Linked DNA regions of Homo sapiens: region 2 is linked to region 1. Evidence: promoter capture Hi-C in human tissues and cell types (Jung and others, 2019). All regions are on one chromosome and are shown on one strand. Each heading gives the region's core, a stretch centred on a gene start or on the middle of the fragment in contact. The rest is flanking DNA. Distances are from core to core; before and after follow the strand shown.

The links. Contacts are between HindIII fragments. The study calls those that stand out against the background at their distance.
Region 2: a contact is called between a fragment that was not itself captured here and the fragment with the promoter of PIK3C2B in region 1, in 1 of the 25 tissues and cell types used here (bladder).

The regions. Positions count from the first base shown.
Region 1 is chr1:204,489,832-204,496,403 of GRCh38, reverse strand. It overlaps PIK3C2B (phosphatidylinositol-4-phosphate 3-kinase catalytic subunit type 2 beta), which reads left to right and starts at 1,599. Exons shown (of 33, transcript NM_001377334.1): 1 at 1,599-2,048. LOC124904584 (translation initiation factor IF-2) reads right to left here and starts at 4,653. Exons shown (of 2, transcript XM_047439554.1): 1 at 4,643-4,653; 2 at 672-2,228. The coding sequence starts at 4,653. The coding sequence ends at 1,208. RefSeq lists silencers at 1,450-1,919, 3,479-3,558 and enhancers at 2,020-2,149, 2,220-2,409. The HindIII fragment of the contact is 7,537 bases long and covers 1-4,496 here.
Region 2 is chr1:204,135,033-204,142,072 of GRCh38, reverse strand. It overlaps ETNK2 (ethanolamine kinase 2), which reads left to right. Exons shown (of 8, transcript NM_018208.4): 4 at 616-758; 5 at 1,955-2,038; 6 at 4,824-4,969. It overlaps ERLNC1 (estrogen receptor responsive lncRNA 1), which reads right to left and starts at 665. Exons shown (of 3, transcript NR_123739.1): 1 at 597-665; 2 at 1-508. The HindIII fragment of the contact is 3,100 bases long and covers 1,947-5,046 here.

The DNA of each region.
Region 1 (6,572 bases), core at 350-2,849:
CACAAGGTCAGGAGATCGAGACCATCCTGGCTAACACGGTGAAACCCTGTCTCTACTAAAAATACAAAAAAAAAAAAAAAAAAAAAGAAAAAATTAGCTGGGCATAGTGGCGGGCGCCTGTAGTCCCAGCTACTCCGGAGGCTGGGCCAGAAGAATGGCGTGAACCCGGGAGGCAGAGCTTGCAGCGAGCCGAGATCACGCCACTGCACTCCAGCCTGGGCGACAGAGCAAGACTCCGTCTCAAAAAAAAAAAAAAAAAAAAGAACCACCAGTGGCCCCTGTAACACTCTGTTCTCTCAGGCTCCTGAGCTTGACCTGATGACAGACACAGAGTAAGCTGTCATAAATATTTGTATGGTGAAGAAGTGCACGGACACGTTTTTTAACCCCTGTGGCTCCTGAGATCAGGAGTAGCATCATATACATTATGACATATGTGCAGACCAAGCTGCCTTCAGTTAATTATCAAGATGTTTCACCTACATTCTCTCCTTTGATCATTACGAAAGCGTGATAGGTGAGGACGCTATTCTTGATATTCAGAGGGTGAAGTGGAATACTGAAAGTCACAAGCATTGGGTACAGAAGGCACTGTAGGATCAGAAAGGGGAGTGATCCCTTTCCTCCCCATCATAAGAGTCACAGCCGACACTTCTATAACAAAAGACAAGTTAACCAGAGAAAAGCATAACAAATTTATTTAATCATGGTTTTACTTGAGAGGCTGAGGACCAGGTGTTAATCTTCATAGTCTGTCGAGAAAGAAAGAAGAAATGAGGGCAGTGGAGGAAAACACGATTCACGTTTTTAGGAAAATATACTTTGAGATTAGTGATCGTTGGTACTATGCAAACCAAATGCAAACGAGGAGCTGGCCAACTCATGGTTTCTTTTGGGTGGAGCCTTTAGGAAAATTCTTCCAGAGACCACTGCTGGAAGAAAGGTATTTAGAGTAGAAAATTTAAATATAACATATTGTATGAAAGGTTTTTTTTTTTTACTTTTTTTTCTCACTACCCTAGTTGGGTTGGAGGATCCTCTATCTCCCCTCCCTACTTAGGTTGACTGCTGTTTCCTGGATCGCAGCTCGGAAGATCCACCTGGGCGAATACAAAAACAAACGAGACTCCCCTTCCAGAAAGGGAGGAAGGAAGGAGACAGAAAGACGAATGACACTGAGCGTGTAAAGCCCGGAGACAGCCTCTCTCTACCCCAACCTAACCCTCAAGGTAGGGGATCCCCCGAACATCGCTACCGTAATTATGGTAGAAATTCCTGAAACGGATAACTGGACCTCAGCACCGTCATTTCTAGCAGAATGATTGAGCTTTCCTCTGACCCAAAGCCAAGGGGTTCCAGCAGGGGAAACTAACGACCATCCGCAAAAACCCTCACCCAAGTGGGGAGTGGAAATCCTGGCTCTTGGGTTGCAGAGCACAACTTGACGCCAGCGCGTTTCTCTTCCCCCACGCAATGGCAAGTGGGGCGGGAGTCGGAGGGGAGAGGAGGAGAGGAGAAGAGAAGAGGAGGGGGAAGGGGAGGGGAGAGGCGAAGGGCGGCCCGGGTTCCAGCAGCCGCCCCGCCCTCCGGCTCGCGGCGGATTCGGCGCTGCGGCTGGAGCCGGCGGCCGGGTGCCTGCCTGTCCAGGCAGGGTCTGGCCGAGCGTCGCGTCGCCGTGCAGTGCGCCGGGTGTCCGGGAGATGGCTTCCCCTCTCTCGCCCGCTGCTGCCGCTATTGTCTCACCCGGGGTGGCCTGACTCTGCGAGCTCGCGCACGCTCTCGGCGGAGAGCACCCCTCCCCACCCCCACAAGCTGGTCCTTGCGCCCTTTGCTGCCTCTCCCTCTGCCCCTTGGAGCCTAGGGTCTGTGCGGAGCCTGGAGAGGGGAGCGGCCCGGGAGCAGGCGGCGTGCGGCCGGCCAGCTCCTCTCGCGCTGGTGCAAGAGGCGCCTGGAGCCGCAGAGCGAGCCCGGGAGGCGCGGAGCGAGCAGCCCACGTCGCCAGGCACAAGACACGTCGGATGTTGCAGCAGAGCCAGCAGCTAGCGCAGGTAGGACACGCATCCTGCGGGTTGCATCGGCCCCAGCGTCTGTAAAGTGCCCCCAGAGTGGAGGCAGCCGAGGTCAGGGGGCTCTCCCTCCAACATGGCAACAGCGGAGGTGCAACAATGGAAGCAGCCGAGGGTTCCTGGCGGCGGGCTGAGCGGCGGACGCCGTGGGAGCCTGAGCTCCTGCCCGCCGGGCAGAGCAGGTTGCCCCTCACCCCACTCCACTCCACTCCAGCAGCTTCAGGGCCTCTGGGGCTCCAGGCACCCGCGTCCCCACCCCCTTCTCGCTAAACACACTTCCTGGCTCCCAGCTGCAGGGCGATCTGAACCAGTCAATGGCTTTGGGGTTTGTTTATTTAAGATAAGAAATAAAAAAAGCAAAACCTGTCCTGTGATGGGGTTAGTGCCTTCTGTGGACTGGGTGAGAAGTCGGCATCTAGCCTGGGGAATGTGTACGTTTCTTAGTCGGGCGGAGGGTAGAATTGGATTCTCCCTTATAAGGATACTGCAGCAAAAGGAGACTGAAAGCTTGAAAGAGGGAGAGGGACCCTCAGGCCTGAGTTCGCCGGTGCTGGGAGAAGGCGCTGCTCTCCTGGCCTATACTTGTCCCTCATTTTCAGCTCCCGACAGCGGTGACTTTGATGTTGGAGGAGCAATCGCAGCAGGAAGCACAAGCAAGGCTGCCAAGCTGGTGTGGGGTGGAGTAGGGTGGGGAGCCCAGGGGCTTGGCAGGCTTCTGGATTGTGGGAAGAGGTTACCAAATGTATGAGGTTAGTGCACACACCCTAGTTGGCTGATGTTGAAGTGTGTGTGTGTGTGTGTGTGTGTGTGTGTTTTCTGCCATTGCTCTTGCTCCTTCAGGCCTGCCTTTTCTCCTCTCCACCCGCTTCTGGGGTCTTCGTAGCTTCCCTGCCCCAGCCCTTCCAATCATGCCTGGGATGGAATCGCTGTATTGTCTCTGGCAGCTCTCTTGGGCTGTTTTTTCTCAACTCTGTTGGAGAGTTTTGTACCCTGGGCTGGCTGGTCCCAGCATGGCACCAGATTCTTTAGCAGGCGGCTACCCGGGCTCCAAGAAGTGGGCCAATGCTGCCCCTCCTCCTTGCTCTAAACTACCTATTTGGGATATGGCCAGGCAGATGTAAGCAATTTGTACTAAATTCCAACCCTGAATCAGTGCTGAATGAAAACTTACTCTGTTGCTGCATCAGGCTTTGGGAAGATATTAGGAAGAGAAATGGCCCAGGAGGTGGCAATGCCGACCCCCAAATACTTCCCTCTCCCCAACTCCAGCTGCCGATCCCAGAGCAGACAGGCAGTGAGACTTTGGAATCCCAGCTCCTCCAGAGTCTGGCTGGCCCATCTTGAGGTTGTGTCCATGGAAAAATTAAGTCGAGGCACATTTTATAGCTCTGCTTGGCAGCCAGCATCTGAAGAGATGGTGGCTCTGAGCTGGAGCCCTAGACCCAGGCTGTGGCTGCTTCTCCTTTGGCCTTTGGGTGAGCCTGAGGTTTGATTGCCATGGCTCTGAGCTTACTGCTGAGTGTGTATGGCTGAATCTGATCAAGCTCTCAGACCCGGCTGCTTGTCTATTTCCTTCTCCACTGGAAGCATGAGTGAGAAAGGGCCAAGGGGGTGTGCTGGGTGAGGAAGGGTCAGTTTATCTGGGGACTTGGGCTGTTTCTGGGGGAGCTCCTTTGGACTTCCTTGGTGGTCTGGAATGCCTTTGGTCTTTGTCATGACCTAGTATGCTCTGGCAGATACTCTATACCCTCGTGGGCCTTTGGTCCCCGCTTGGTGGTGTCCCCACTCCTCCTGTGCCTGGTGCTTTGCATCTATATCATGTCTGTGGTGCTTCAGCTGGGATGGCCCTGGCCTGGACCAGTGGGTAGAAAAATGAGGTCTCTGTTCCTTTTAGGGGCTTGTAACTAGCTATAAGGTTCAGGCTCCTCATGTTCCCAGGATGTGAACTTGGACATCATAATGTGAAGTAGTAGAGAAAACAGTGTCTTGGTGTGACTTTCTTTTTAGCTATGTGAGCACAGACAATTTGTGGACCTAAGATTTAGTTTGTATATTTGTAAAATGGAGGTGGGGGAGTAGCCATGGCTCACAGGATTAATAATGAAATGCTGCTTACCAAGAACTAAACAGAATCATGTGTGCAAAAGTACCCTGAAAACTACAGAGTACTTTACAAATGATTATTCTTACTGGGTTTAGCCTCCCACATAAGGGAGGGAGATCTGTGAGGGATGGGGATAGGGTGGGATCTGAGGGCCACATGGAGTAGGGAATGTTTTGGGACCTTTTCTTTCTTGCTAAGGAAAGAGTAGTGTGACAATACCAAGGTAACTGCTGTATTCCTTGGGTATTTTTCTTTAAATAGTGTTGGCAGGATGGGAACTGGGAGAGAAGGAAAGGATGCCTCATGATATTTGTAGGAATTGAGGAGGGATAAACACCTTCCAAAGGCTGGCTACTGCCTATAGAGAGGATAATGCTGAGCTGGCAAGTAATGTAATCACTAACACTCACTGATGTCAGCCAGCTAGTAAATGATAGAGGTGGGATTTGAAGCAAGCAGTCTCACTCCTTACCCTGTGTTCATAGCCTCAGTGCTACTCAGAGAGATATTGGGTCTTGGGAGAACAGAAAGGGACAGCAAAATTGTGGAGTTCATTCTTTTTGTTTGTTCTTGAGACAGGGTCTCTCCCTGTTGCCTAGGCTGGAGTGCAGTGGGCTCAAGTGATCCTTCGACCTCAGTCCCCACCCTGAGTAGCTTGGACTATAGGCATGCACCACTACATGTGGCTAATTTTTTAAGTTTTTGTAGAGATGGGGTCTCAGTATGTTGCCCAGGCTGGTCTCAAACTCCTGGCCTCAAAGGAACCTCCTGCCTTGGCCTCCCAAAGGGTTAGGATTATAGGCATGAGCCACTATGTCCAGCCTCAGAATTCATTTTTTTTTTTTGAGACAGAGTCTCACCCTGTCACCCAGACTGGAGTGCAGTGGTGTCATCTCAGCTCCCTGCAACCTCCGTCTCCCAGGTTCAAGGGATTCTTGTGCTTCAGCCTCCCGAGTAGCTGGGATTATAGGCGTGTGCCACCATGCCTGGCTAATTTTTTGTATTTTTAGTAGAGACAGGGTTTCACCATGTTGGCCAGGCTGGTCTCGAACTCCTGACCTCAGGTGATCCACCTGCCTCAGCCTCCCAAAGGGCCAGGATTACAGGTGTGAGTCACCATGTCCAGCCTCAGAATTCATTCTTAATGGATTCCTTGAATGCCCATGAGACGTCACCAGCCTGGGACATCTCATGGGCATGTAGGCATAATAAATTTTTCTGGGCCTCATCTGCTTTTCTATGCATTTTTATTTCTATGTCTACCTTCCAAGGAAGGAAGAGATGTGGGATAATCTGATCAAGTCATATTGCTGCCTTCTGAGCAACACTAATAGAAGGTTTGGGACTTGGAGGATCCTGGGGAAATTAAGGCAGATTTCTTGTTTTGGTATTTTCATATCTGCTTTATTTTGCATCTGTTTTATAAAATGAAACTTGAGGGACTATTCTTGCCTTTTTTTTTTTTCTTTTTCTGTTGAGACAGGATTTCACTATGTTGCCTAGACTGATCTCGAACTTCTGGTCTCAAGTGATCCTCCCACCTCGGCCTCCCAAAGTGTTGGGATTACGGGCATGAGCCACCTCTCCCAGCTTGTTCTTGCATTTTGTAAGATCACATAGAGTATCAAAACTGGAAAGGACCTGGGCCATCACTTCCCTGAGAAAAAGTGACTTTCTCAAGGTCATGCAGTTAGTAGCAATGCTGGAACTGAACGCCTACCCCGCAGATCACAACATGACCCGTGAAAGGACCTATCCTGCAACACTTTGGAGTTTCGTGCCGACCCAATTAGTGGCTTTGTCTTTGGGAAATTTACTTCCCCAAAACACTGGGACATTGGGATGGAATTCACTCACCCCAAATCATCACCCTGGTTAAGGAGACTAAAGAATCAGAAGACATTTGTGCTTTGGGGAGCAGAGGCCCTCAGGGTATAGAGAAGGAAGAAGAGAGAGGTTCACTGTAGTCCTGAAGCAGAAATAAGACCTGTGGCTGAAGGAAGCCTTAGCAATTCACTCCTTCCTCTTCCTGAGAACTCTCTGTAGGAAGTCTCACCTAGCAGAGGCTTCACAGTATTTCAGAGAAGCCAAAGATTGTTTGCCTCTTTGGAAACTGTTATCCTTCCATCATGACTGTGTCACTCCTGCCACTGTTCCACCATAGAGGTGGGTGCCTAATATTAGAGAGTTGTTTCACACACGTGGCTCATTCCTCAAGCCTCGCTAAGCCAAGCCCACCAGGAAGAAGCTTGAGTGGAAGCATTCTCTCCAGCCACATCTTTCTCTCTTTCTCTCATACTAGATGGCGTCCTTTGCAGCAAACCGTAAGTTATAAGGATGAGGGAAGAAGAGTAGAGGGCCAAAAGGATTCCATTTTGAGGAAAAACTACAGTTTGCCTTGC
Region 2 (7,040 bases), core at 2,247-4,746, 360 kb after region 1:
CTACCTGTGACATGGTCAGCTGCTGGGGTGAGAGGGGGGTGCATACCAGGACATACCTCTGCCTCCTCAAGAGAGCTCCATTGCTCCAGCTCCCTGCCAGGGCACTACTCTTCCTCCTGGGGAGGATCTTTGTGGGAGTCAGCTCGACTTAGGGAGCTGCACCGCCTCCTGGGGAGTTTTCCCAGCATCCTAAGATCAGGTCTGTTTTGCATCTCTCCCCACTGCTCCTGTTGCCCTTGTTCTTAGTCTGGAATCCCCAGGTCTGGACACTCGTTCTCACCTGCCTTGTCCTTTCCCTGTGTCTCCTTCCTTACCCTCCTGTTCCTTTCACAAAGTAGCAGGGATGCCCTCAGTCAGTGACTTTTATGCTCTGCCTCATGCTTTGACGCCCATGTCTTTATCAGCTTCCTAGCATAACCAGAGGAGTCAGAAGGACAGGACGCCTCAGTGCCATTTTACAGATGATAAAAGTGAGGGTCTAAGAGATTGGCCATTTTTCCAAGGCCCCCTGCAGTAAGACAGAGGGAGTGATGAGGCTCAGATTCAGGGCTCTTGAGGCCAAGCACCTGTCTATCAGCCCTCCTTTCACTGGCTACCTTTTTTGCCACTGCCCAGCCTTTCTGCAGATGTCCCTAAGGTAGAGGTGTTGGAACGGGAGCTGGCCTGGCTGAAGGAGCATCTGTCCCAGCTGGAGTCCCCTGTGGTGTTTTGTCACAATGACCTGCTCTGCAAGAATATCATCTATGACAGCATCAAAGGTATGGCTTCTCTGGCCCTGGGGCAGCAGCAGGGTTTTGGTTGGTTGGTTAGCTGGCTTCACGGAGCTGTTCTTCCGGCTGGCACTTGGACAAGCAAAAGTTAGACCTTGATTTAGGTCTTAAGTTAATTTGTAGGAGGGAAGGGGGAAAGGAAATAAAAAATTCCCACTTTGAAAAGTCTGTGCCAAGGGCCAGTCTCAGTGGCTCATGCCTATAATCCCAGCAGTTTGGGAGGCCAAGGCATGTGGATTGCTTAAGCCCAGGAATTCAAGACCAGCCCAGGCAATGTGGTGAGACCCTGTCTCTACAAAAAAAATACACAAAACTTTTCCTGGTATGGTGGTACATGCTATAGTCCTAGCTCCTCGGGAGGCTGAGGCAGGAGAATCACTTGAGCCTGGGAGGTGGAGGCTGCAGTGAGCCATGATGGAGCCACTACACTCCAGCCTGGGCAACAGAGCAAGACCCTATTTAAAAAAAAAAAAAAAGTCTGGCCAGGCGCGGTGGCTCATGCCTGTAATCCCAGCACTTTGGGAGGCTAAGGCGGGTGGATCATGAGGTCAGGAGTTCAAGACCAGCCTGGCCAACATGGCGAAACCCCATCTCTACTAAAAATACAAAAATTAGCTGGGCATGGTGGTGTGCGCCTGTAATCCTAGCTACTCAGGAGGCTGAGGCAGGAGAATCGCTTGAACCAGGGAGGCAGAGGTTGCAGTGAGCCGAGATCATGCCACTGTACTCCAGCCTGGGCGACAGAGCGAGACTCTGTCTCAAAAAAAAAAAAGACAAAAACAAACAAACAAAAATCTGTGCCAAGAAAGAGAGAGAACGAACACATCCTGGTGTTGCTGATGAGGGCATCACCCCAGGGCGTATTAATACTTAGCTTTATTCCTGATCCTTAGCCATGCTGAGGACAGCTGTCTTTAGATGAGGAGAGCCTGAAGATCCAGCTGTGTGAGAGGGACACTGGGAGCTGGGAAGGGCAGATGGATGGATGGATGGATGGATGGATGGATGGATGGATGGATGAATGGAAGTAGCTTGGAAGACTGCTGCAGTGATGGGATTGGGCAGGGTTGCTGCAGAGGCCGGCATCACTCAGTGGGTGCATCCCAGAGGTCTGTGGAAGCTTGACCAGGCTCTGTTGCCAGATCTCCTGGGCCAACTCTCATCGATTCTCCTCTACTTCATAGGTCACGTGCGGTTCATTGACTATGAATATGCTGGCTACAACTACCAAGCTTTTGACATTGGCAACCATTTCAATGAGTTTGCAGGTGAGAGGGGCATTTCTACAGTCATGTGCTTTGTAGCGGTGTTTCAGTCAATGACTGACCGCATGTAGATGGTGGTCCTATGAGATTACTGTATATTTACGGTAATAGGTACCATATTTTTACTGTACCTTTTCTATGTTTAGACATGTTTAGATACGTAAATACTTAGCATTGTGTTACAGTTACCCACAGTATTCAGTATAGTAACATGCTGTACAGGTTTGTAGCTCAGGAGCAACAGGCTATACCATGCAGCCTAGGTGTGTAGTAGGCTATCCCATCTAGGTTTGTGTAAGTACACTGATGATCACACAAAATCACCCGATGGTGCATTTCTCAGAAGGTATCCCTGTCATTAGGCAATACAGGACTATATTTGACCAACGTTCAAAGCACCCTCTTTAGGATGGGGACCAGGGCCAGGGTATGGGGAAGGCCAGAGGTGGTTCTATACTTAGAGGGTAGAGGCTAGATAGCTCTTGTCCTCCAAAATATCACAGCTTAAGGGGTTAAGGCACAGCCTGCTTTTAGAGAGTTCCAAGTCTCATTGGAGGAAACAGGACTCACATACACAGAGCAGACCTCTCCTAGCCCATATGGCACTTTGGTAACTCAGCTTGGTACATGAATTAGAAAAAGACCCCTTCCTCCAGGCAGACCCAGCTTAGACGATTGCTGCAGCTTGGCTAGCACAGCACAGGATGACTTCAGCCTCCACTCCTTTGTCCAAGCTCCTTTATACCCAGTACAACTGGCGCAATTGTACATGAGGGCCTTACATGTAGATAAGGAGCAGAACAAGCTACAAGTAGCTGTTTGCCTGGTGGCCTGATGAGAGTCATCTAAGTAGGATCTAAATATGTGCTATGTAATTTGACTCCCTAAGTTCAGTTTCTGGCTTTGCTGCTTACTGGCTGTGTGACCCTTGGGCAGTTTATTTACCTTCTCTGTGCCCCTATAAAATGGAGATGATGATAGTACCTACCTCATAGTGTTGATATGAGACACACACACACACATATGTATGACACATACTAAGCATTGTATTGGTGTTTGCTGCTGTGATTAGACTGCGAAGCTTTCCGGGAGTGGGGATGGAAGAGGCAGGATAGGGGGGTGATTCCTAGGGGTAGGCAGGTGTTCTATAAAGGCATAGTATGCACAATGGAACCATTTGTGTAGAGGAGGCAAGGCAGGTTTTTCCAGCTTGAGGGCTTAATTAGATGGAACCGAGGAGGCAACTCACATGGACGGAGCTGGACACTGGGGCTGGAGAGCTGTCCCCAGACTAGCACAGTAAAGTGTTCACATGATGGGGCCAGGCCCTGTGGCTCAGGATAGAGAGGCATGCCCAGGCCAACTGGACAGCCATTCTCCAGCCCCATCAGGCCAATTGTGTTCCTTCTGGAACCCCAGGTGATCAATCTGTCGAGCAATGATTGTACCTGAGAGTACACCTAGGAACCCCCAGGGTGATGGAGCCTCTGCTGGGCAGAGCAGCTGAGCCTCGGGGTGTGGCATGGAGCAGAGGCTGGCACTGGCAGGGCCCTGGGTCCGGGAATGCTTGGCTGCAAGGCCCCCTGGCCTTTCCACAAGGGATAATTCTTAAGCATTTTAAGTCCTCCTTGCCCACAGCACAGAGCAAAATCCAACTGGAATTTCTCCAAAGGGGTAGATTGCAGCCTGCTCTCAAGTTGAGAATGGAGGAGGAAGAACCTAGCCTGGGGGAAGGAAGAGAGCTAGGGAGATCCAGACCTAGGGAGAGGGGCCTCATGGGTGCGCAGGAGTGAGGAAGACACAGTTCTGGGCATTGGGAGATGAGAGTTCCAGCCCTGACTCTGCCTCTAACCACCATATGACCTTGGGTGCATTTCTTCTCCTCTCTGGGCCTCCGTTTGTACATCTGTTCCAGGAGATTCTTTTCTAGCCACGCTCCTGGAGCCTCAGGAGACTGTGTATGTTTCTCCAGGGATATAAAGGAAGCTTGAGAAGGACAAGAAGAAGAGGAAGGAGGGAACCCTAGAGAAGGTGGCCCAGTCCTGGTCCTCCTGTCTTAAACCACTTCTTTCTGTACCAGCTCTGAAGCTGTGGTTTATTCTACCATGCCCAGGATGAGGCTGGTGGTACTGGGCTGGCAGCTGGAGGGCTATGGTGGGGCTGGAAGAAACCAGAGCCATCTGATCCATGGGTTCCCAGCCTGGCTACACATCAGAGCCATCTGGGGAACTGGACTGGGGTGGGGGTGCTCTCCAGGTGATGTTTTTAAGTAGCCAGCTTAACACCAGGAAGCCATGTTTGATATCCCTACATGAAGTCCAGCTCCCTCATTTGATAAATGAAGAAATTTCGGCCAGTGATAGAAAAGAGTTCCCTTAAGGCTAACAAGGTTAGCATAAGACCTAGGGCTAGTAATGCTTATCCAGTGCTTTTAACTGAGGGCCTCCTGTGCACCATCATTTTTGTGCAGGGGTTGGGAAAGACAGTGGTGCTGTCTTGAGGGGTTCCTGTCACTCCCAGGACAGTGTCTTGCCCCTTAACCAGTCTACCTCTCTCTCTGCTTTCCTCAATCCCACAGAAACAGTGCTCCTAGCTGGGATGGGGTAGACCCCACACTAGCTGAGTTTAGTAATCAAAGAAGCTGCCTTCTCGGGCCGCCTCCTTGGGCACAGCCCCAAAGATCAAAGGAGATGGGAGTTTGAGGGGAGATGGGAACACCTACTGAGCTTGAGGAGACCCTTGGTGGGCCCATCTCTGAGCAACTTTGTCTGGCCTGCCTCCCCCTCAGGCGTGAATGAGGTGGATTACTGCCTGTACCCGGCGCGGGAGACCCAGCTGCAGTGGCTGCACTACTACCTGCAGGCACAAAAGGGGATGGCCGTGACCCCCAGGGAGGTGCAAAGGCTCTACGTGCAAGTCAACAAGTTTGCCCTGGTGAGTGCCTTATTTCTAGGGCTGGGGCAGGAAAGGAGGAGTTAGCAGGAGGGACTGGTGACCCACCTAGCCTCCTACCCAGAGCCCAGGGTCAGGTGAGAGCCTGGGGACACCCATCCCTGGCTCCTGACCCCACCCTAGAGGTGAAGCCTGGGAAGAGCCATCTTAGGCAGCTCTTAATACTTGATGCCCTGTTCCCTGCTCCCCAAGCCCCACCAAGTCTAGGCTCTCTCCTTTCTAGAGAAATACTTCCAAGAAATATCCTAGCTTCCTGTGTTAGCAATTCCCTTGTTTGAATAAGTAGTTCTTTCTACTGCCTAACCTCAGCCCTTCATGCTGCAGTTAAATTCATCCATATATATGTATATATACTTTTTTTTTTTTTTTTTTGAGGCAGAGTCTCACTCTTGTTGCCCAGGCTAGAGTGCAATGGCGCTATCTCGGCTCACTGCAACCTCCGCCTCTCAGGTTCAAGCCATTTTCCTGCCCTCAGCCTCCCAAGTAGCTGGGATTACAGACATGTACCACCACACCCAACTAGTTTTTTTGTATTTTTAGTAGAGACGTGGTTTCACAATGTTGGCCAGGCTCATCTTGAACTCCTGACCTCAGGTGATTCGCCCGCCTCTGCCTCCCAAAGTGTTGGGATTATAGGAGTGAACTACTGCGCCCGGCATATATATATATATATATATATATACTTTTTTTGAGACAGGGTCCCGCTCTGTCATCTAGGCTGGAGCACAGTGACACAATCATAGCTCACTGCAGCCTGAAACTCCCAGGCTCAAGCAATCCTCCCACCTCAGCCTCCTGAGTAGCTAGGATTACAGGTGTGCCACCATGCCCGGCTAATTTCTTTAAACTTTTTGTGGAGATCAGCTATTGCTATGTTGCCCAGGCTGGTCTCTAACTCCTGGCCTCAAATGATCCTCCCACCTCAGCCTCCTGAGTAGCTAAGGTTATAGGCGTGAGCTACCATGCCTGGCTATATGTGTGTGTGTATATACATATATATTTTTTTAACCTTTAGAGAAGATACAGAATATCAAGCTCATACTTCTGTGTAACTACCTCCACTGACTCAGAACTCTAAGTAAGCTTTTCCCAACAGGCTCTTCCTGCTCAAATGACTGTGCTGTCAGTTCTCAATTTTCAGTGCCCCTTATCCAAGATACCTGGTTCATGCCAGGTCTCCACCGGTGTGTGCCCAGGGATTGCTAATGTTGGCTTGCAGAAGTAAGAAGACAAGTCAGCTGCCTTGAATTTCACAGTACAGAAGAGAGCTAAATACAATCTTTACTTTTCTGTAATTTCGGATTCCCTATTCTGTTTTCCTCACTGGCACAAAACAGAGTCTACATTAGGTTCTTCCTCCTCAGTCTTAAGACTTTAAGACCTTAAGCACAAGCCTTCCTCTTGCTAAGTTTTTTAGTGATCATTCACATGTGCTAGCTTATCTATGCCCCTTTTAAGGAATGGAAAGGAAATAAAGTGGAGGGAGGTACTTTGTAGCCAACCCCTGAGTGAGGAGGATTCTGGGATGGGGTGGGAATGGGATGGGAGAGCCACAAGGGTTGGGGGACTCACATGGGAAAGTGATGGCATCACTAGTGTTTGTTCAGGGGTAGACGGGAACCGCAGCTCCCTGGCTTTATTTTATTTTATTTTTTTACTTTTATTTTAGATTCAGAGGTACACGTGCAGGTTTGTTATATAGGTAACCTGCCTGTCACCGGGGTTGGTGTACAGATTGTTTCATCACCCAGGTAATAAGCAGTGTGTGACAGGTAGTTTTTTGATCCTCACCCTCCTCCCATCCAATCCCTGGCTTCTTGAGCCTGAGGTGACCTGGGCCTGGTGGGTACCTCTAGCCACAAGGAGAGCACGGTTTGAGGCTTAGCAAATGCCTAGACTTGGGGGATTCTTGTTTCCATATCTAGGTTCATTTTCCAACCCAACCAGCCTCCCAGGAGAGAGGAAAAGGAGTGGAGGAGGTTAGTGTAGGGATCTTCCAGCAGACACGTGGCCAGGGCACTGCTGCCCATCACTCTTCCTTCCCTGCACCTTC